Regions from separate parts of the Homo sapiens genome. Here region 1 is linked to region 2. Evidence: promoter capture Hi-C in human tissues and cell types (Jung and others, 2019). All regions are on one chromosome and are shown on one strand. Each heading gives the region's core, a stretch centred on a gene start or on the middle of the fragment in contact. The rest is flanking DNA. Distances are from core to core; before and after follow the strand shown.

Evidence for each region. The method cuts DNA at HindIII sites, captures the fragments that hold promoters and counts their contacts. A contact is called where the count stands out against the background at its distance.
Region 1: a contact is called between the fragment with the promoter of ADAT1 here and a fragment that was not itself captured in region 2, in 1 of the 25 tissues and cell types used here (hippocampus).

What each region holds. Positions count from the first base shown.
Region 1 is chr16:75,621,921-75,624,620 of GRCh38, forward strand. ADAT1 (adenosine deaminase tRNA specific 1) reads right to left here and starts at 1,361. Exons shown (of 10, transcript NM_001324445.2): 1 at 483-1,361. RefSeq lists enhancers at 1-114, 115-634, 635-1,154, 1,036-1,275, 1,155-1,674. The HindIII fragment of the contact is 9,595 bases long and covers 1-2,700 here.
Region 2 is chr16:75,184,837-75,187,536 of GRCh38, forward strand. No RefSeq gene overlaps it. Among named protein-coding and RNA genes, the nearest start is that of CTRB2, 21 kb to the right of the region's middle. The HindIII fragment of the contact is 9,756 bases long and covers 1-2,700 here.

The DNA of each region.
Region 1 (2,700 bases), core at 111-2,610, 440 kb after region 2:
GTGGCTCACCTGAGGTCAGGAGTTCGAGGCCAGCCTGGCCAACGTGGTGAAACCCTGTCTCTACTGAAAATACAAAAAAATTAGCCGGGCGTGATGGCGCGTGCCTGTAGTCCCAGCTACTCGGGAGGCTGAGGCAGGAGAATCGCTTGAACCCGGGAGGCGGAGGTCGCAATGAGCCGAGATTGTGCCACTGCACTCCAGGCTGGGTGACAGAGCGAGACTCCCTCTCAAAAAAACAAAAAAGGCTTTCCTGAGCTCCAGTGCATGCAGCTTTTGAAAGATGGTATTGTTATGAATCCCCTGCAGCGCAACGTGCAGGCTCGCTACTGTAGTGAATGCTACTGGTAAATCAGACCACAGTGATTTAAAACAAAAATCTGCAGGAAGTGAGACCCTGTGACTTGAAAGTCAGAGGGCCAGGGCAAGCCTTGTCAAGAAAAGAAAGCATGAGATCCTAGAATCCTCGTTTGGAAGGGACTCACCTCTCATTTCTAGGGAGGCATCACAAGGCAGTATAGTTTATGAAGACCACCTGGCCATCGACCTGAAATTAAACCAGAGGTGCAATTCACAAACCTCGATAGGCAAGGCAGGTAGAAGTTGCCAGAAGAAACAGTGACTCTCTTTAAGATGAAGCAGCCCAGAACGGCATCATCTCACTCAGGTAGTGCGTCTGAATGAGCATGCACAATTGTTTAAATGAATAAATGTTTTGCTACACTGGGTCCATTATAATTCGAGCCTACACCCCCTCCTAGATCTTGAAAACTTGAAGAACTTCTTAGCTGAAAATAACAGCTCAGCTAAACAGGCATTTATTTGCCCACAAGACCGCATCTCTGAACAGTTTCAACAAGCTAAAAAAACTGACGTCCTTTCCAAAGAAAAGGAAGTCGGCTGCCAGGGGAGAAAAGGCTTCAGCGATGCTTGGAGGAAGGGACTCTGGTTTACGCTGGCTCCCTTCCTAAACACTTCCGGAAGCAGAGCCCCTTCCCGGCCGCTGGAGAAGCCTGGGTGGGACCCCGAGTCGGCCAGTTACAGGATAGGAGGTGCCAGGCAAGGCACTGAAGCCATGCAGTGAGAACAGCGTGAGCGCCTGATCCATTGGGTCCTGCGGCTGCCAGGCCAGAGGCCCCGCGCCAGGAGCTCTTCAGGCGCCGGCTGCTGACAGTTCCAGGCGTGGAGCGCCTTCCCACGTGAAACGCGTCCCGGAAGATACGATCCTCACAACCTCTTCCCTCAAAAACAGACTCGGCAAAGTTAGCCCGGATAAACCTGCCCCGTCGCCCCAGCGCCTCGCGGACGCTCCCCTCCCACCTTCAGGAAACGCGCCTAGAAGAAAGCGAGCTTAATCCGCCGGTAAGGCGGACGTGACGTCACAAAGCGCCGGTTCCTTTCGGCTCCCGCTCCCAGAGGCGCGCAGTGCATGCCGGGCCCTGTAGTTTTTCCGGGGAGTCGGTGCCAGGGCCGAGATTCCCGCGCTTCAAGTCCCGCAGCCCTGGCTGCGTCTTAGAGAGGCGTGAAACCGGATGATGGGAGCCGCTTGTTGGCTTAGATATTCCTTCAACTAGAATGACGTATCTTGCAGCACTCGGCTGAATTTTTTTCTTTTTCTTTTTTTTTTTTGAGACGGAGTCTTGCTCTGTTGCTCAGGCTGGAGTGTAGAGGCGCGATCTCGGCTCACTGCAACCTTCGCCTCCCGGTTCAAGCGATTCTCCTGACTATGCTGTATTTCTATCTGTAACATCACTGTCCAATAGATATATAATTCGAACCATATACGTAATTTAAAAATTTCCAGTAGCCTCATTAAAAGTCAAAATAGAAACAATCATATATATTTTATTTAACCCATACATCCCAAATAGTATTATTTCAACATATAATCAAAAAATTTTTTGAGATGGAGTCTCGCTTTGTCGCCCAGGCTGGAAGCGGCGCAATTTCGGCGCACTGCAACCTCCGTCTCCTGGCTTCAAGCGATTCTCCTGCCTCAGCCTCCCAAGTAGCTGGGATTACAGGCGCCCGCCATCACACCCGGCTCATTTTTGTTATTTTTAGTAGAGACGGGGTTTCGCCATGTTACCAGGCTGGTCTCGAACTCCTGACCTCAAGTGATCCGCCCGCCTCAACCTCCCAGAGTGCTGGGATTACAGGCGTGAGTCACGATGCCCGGGGTCGGTCTGTCTGTCTCATATATATATATATATATATTTTTTTTTTTTTTTTTTTTTTTTTTGAGACGGAGTCTCGCTCTGTCACCCAGGCTGGAGTGCAGTGGCGCAATCTCTGCTCACTGCAAGCTCCGCCTCCCAGGTTCACGCCATTCTCCTGCCTCAGCCTCGCGAGTAGCTGGGACTACAGGTGCCTGCCACCACGTCAGGCTAATTTTTGTATTTTTAGTAGATACGGGGTTTCACCATGTTAGCCAGGATGGTCTCGATCTCCTGACCTCGTGATCTGCCCGCCTCGGCCTCCCAAAGTGCTGGATTACAGGCGTGAGCCACCGCACCTGGCTGCCGAGTCTCAATATTTTAAAAAATACTTATGTTCTGTTCTGTTTTTAATGCGAAGTTTAAGAAATCTGGTGTGTGTTACACTTAGAATACATCCCAATTTGGATCAGCCACATTTCAGATGCTGGATAGTCACATGTGGCTACTGGCTACTGTAGTACAGTACTACTACAGTGTAGTGGGC
Region 2 (2,700 bases), core at 118-2,617:
AGTGGTAGACTGAAAAGACTATGTTTCCATGGGGTAGGATTGTTAGGGTACTAGAGAAAATCTGGTTGAGTGAGGAATGCATGAAACATTACAAACAGGTTGCTATTACTAGTAGCAAGATTAATGTGTCCGAGAATAACTGGCTGAAGGAGGGAGGAGTACAGGCTCATTGGAAAAGTGGAGATGAAGAAACTGAAAAGCCAAGTATTAAATCTACATAAGCATTAAAATTATCAATTCAGATGGTAGTGTTAGAGTGGGAACTAAAATTTAAGAGATCCAGGGATCAGAAGATGACTGCTTTAAGTATCACGTGGTACGGTCTGATGGCCTGAGCATCCATGCCATGGGGTGTCAGAGAAGATGAAAGGAGAATGGTCTGGAAGCAGCGAGAAGGACATCTTCCCACCCCCAGGACCAGTGTTAAAGGGTGAAGTAGAAAAGTATAGGGAATGTTCATTAATACATAGGAAATTCTGGCCGGGCACGGTGGCTCACGCCTATAATCCTAACACTTTGGAAGGCCGAGGCTGGTCCATCAGTTGAGGTCAGGAGTTCGATACCAGCCTGGCCAACACAGTGAAACTCTGTCTCTACTAAAAAAAAATACAAAAATTAGTCAGGAGTGGTGGTGCATGCTTATAGCCTCAGCTACTGGGGAGGCTGAGGCAGGAGAATCACTAGAACCTGGGAGGCGGAGGCTGCAATGAGCCGAGATTGCACCACCGCACTCCAGCCTAGGGGACAGAGCAAGACTCCATCTCTCTCTCTCTTTTTTTTTTTTTTTTTTTTTTTTAGACAGAGTCTTGCTCTGTCCCCTAGGCTGGAGTGCAGTGGTACAATTTCGGCTCATTGCAACCTCCGCCTCCCGGGTTCAAGCGATTCTTCTGCCTCAGCCTCCCAAGTAGCTGGAACTACAGGCATGCACCACCACGTCCGGCTAATTTTTGTATTTTTAGTAGAGACGGGGTTTCACCATGTTGTTCAGTCTGTTCTTGAACTCCTGACCTCGTGATCCACCCGCCTCAGCCTCTCAAAGTGCTGGGATTACAGGCATGAGCCACCACGCCCAGCCCAAGACTCCATCTCAAAGAAAAAAAGACATAGGGAATTCTGCCCTAACCTCTGTGGTGAGTTCCAGAGGGCACAGAGGAAGATCTCTAGAAGTTGGGGAGAAGCAAGAGATGGACTCAGAAAGGGATGTAAGTGGAGGAAGTTTAGAGTGGGATCAGGCAGGGGGTGACCCAGGAATCCTGAGCCTCTTATAACTGAGCCAATAAGGACAAAAGCTTTAATGAGATCAGACCTGATAGTCTCAGAAAATGGTGGAGAAGCTGGAGTCTTGGGAGGAGGAAAGGGTAGGCATCTTGCCAAGAGCACCCAGAGTTCTGGGCCCTTCTTCACTCCTGCTAATAGAAATGAGGAAGCCTGGGGAGGTGGGTCTGACTTGGAGCACTTGAGGCTCCTTCTTGATCCTTGCCACGAGGTCATATGAGGAATATTTGAATACCATATGGTTCCTTACATACGGTAGATACCATAGAGCTCCTAAGAGTGAAAGTAGTCAGACTAATTGTGTTGACCTGGAAAAATGTTTGATAGAGTTTTAAAAGCAAGTTGCCAAAAATGTATGTATACACACACAGACAGTTGGCTTTCTGTATCCATGGATTCTGCATCTGAGGATTCAGCCAACCTTGGGTTGAATATTCAGGGAACAAAGAAAAAAATGGATGGTTGCATGTGTATTGAACACACATAGACCTTTTGTCATTATTCCCTAAATATAATGACTATAGAGCATTTAAATTGTATTAGGTATTGTAAGCAGTAGGGATGATTTAAGGTATACTAGAGGGTGTGCATAGATCACAAATACTATACCATTTTATATCAGGGACTTTAGCTTTTGGATTTTGGTATCTGCAGGAGGTCCTGGAACCAGTTCCTCATGGATTATCAAGGGACACATACACATAAATACACATACACACGGAGGGGGAGAAATGAGATGGAGGAAGGAAGATGTGACAACATACAATTGGCTAATCTAGATGAAGAGTGTATGGGTGTTCATTATACAGTCTGTTCTATACAAAATTCTAATTTTCTAATTTTGAATGAAAGAATGTTACAAGATATTATGTATAGCATTTTTTATAGAATATGTATATACATATGGAAGTATGTTATAAACTTAGACAAAAACCAGGAAGTATAACTGCCTGACATGTTCTCCTTGCCCACTGCCCAGATAGAGCCAATTTATCAAGACAGGGCAATTGTAATAGAGAAAGAGTTTAATTCATGCAGAACTGGCTGACCAAGACCGGAGTTTTATTACTCAAATCAGTCTCCCTGAAAATTCGGAGACTCGGGTTTTTTAAGGATAATTTGGTGGGTAGGGGGTCAGGGAGTGGGGTGTGCTGATTGGTTGGGTCTAGAGATGAAATAAGGGGTCAGCCGGGGGCGGTGGCTCACGCCTGTAATCCCAGCACTTTGGGAGGCCAAGGCGGGTGGATCACCTGAGGTCAGGAGTTTGACACCAGCCTGGTCAACATGGTAAAACCCTATCTCTACAAAAACACAAAAATTACCCGGGTGTGGTGGCTTGCACCTTAATCCCAGCTACTCAGGAGGCTGAGGCACGAGAATCGCCTGAACCCAGGAGGTGGAGGGAACAGTGAGCCAGGATCATGC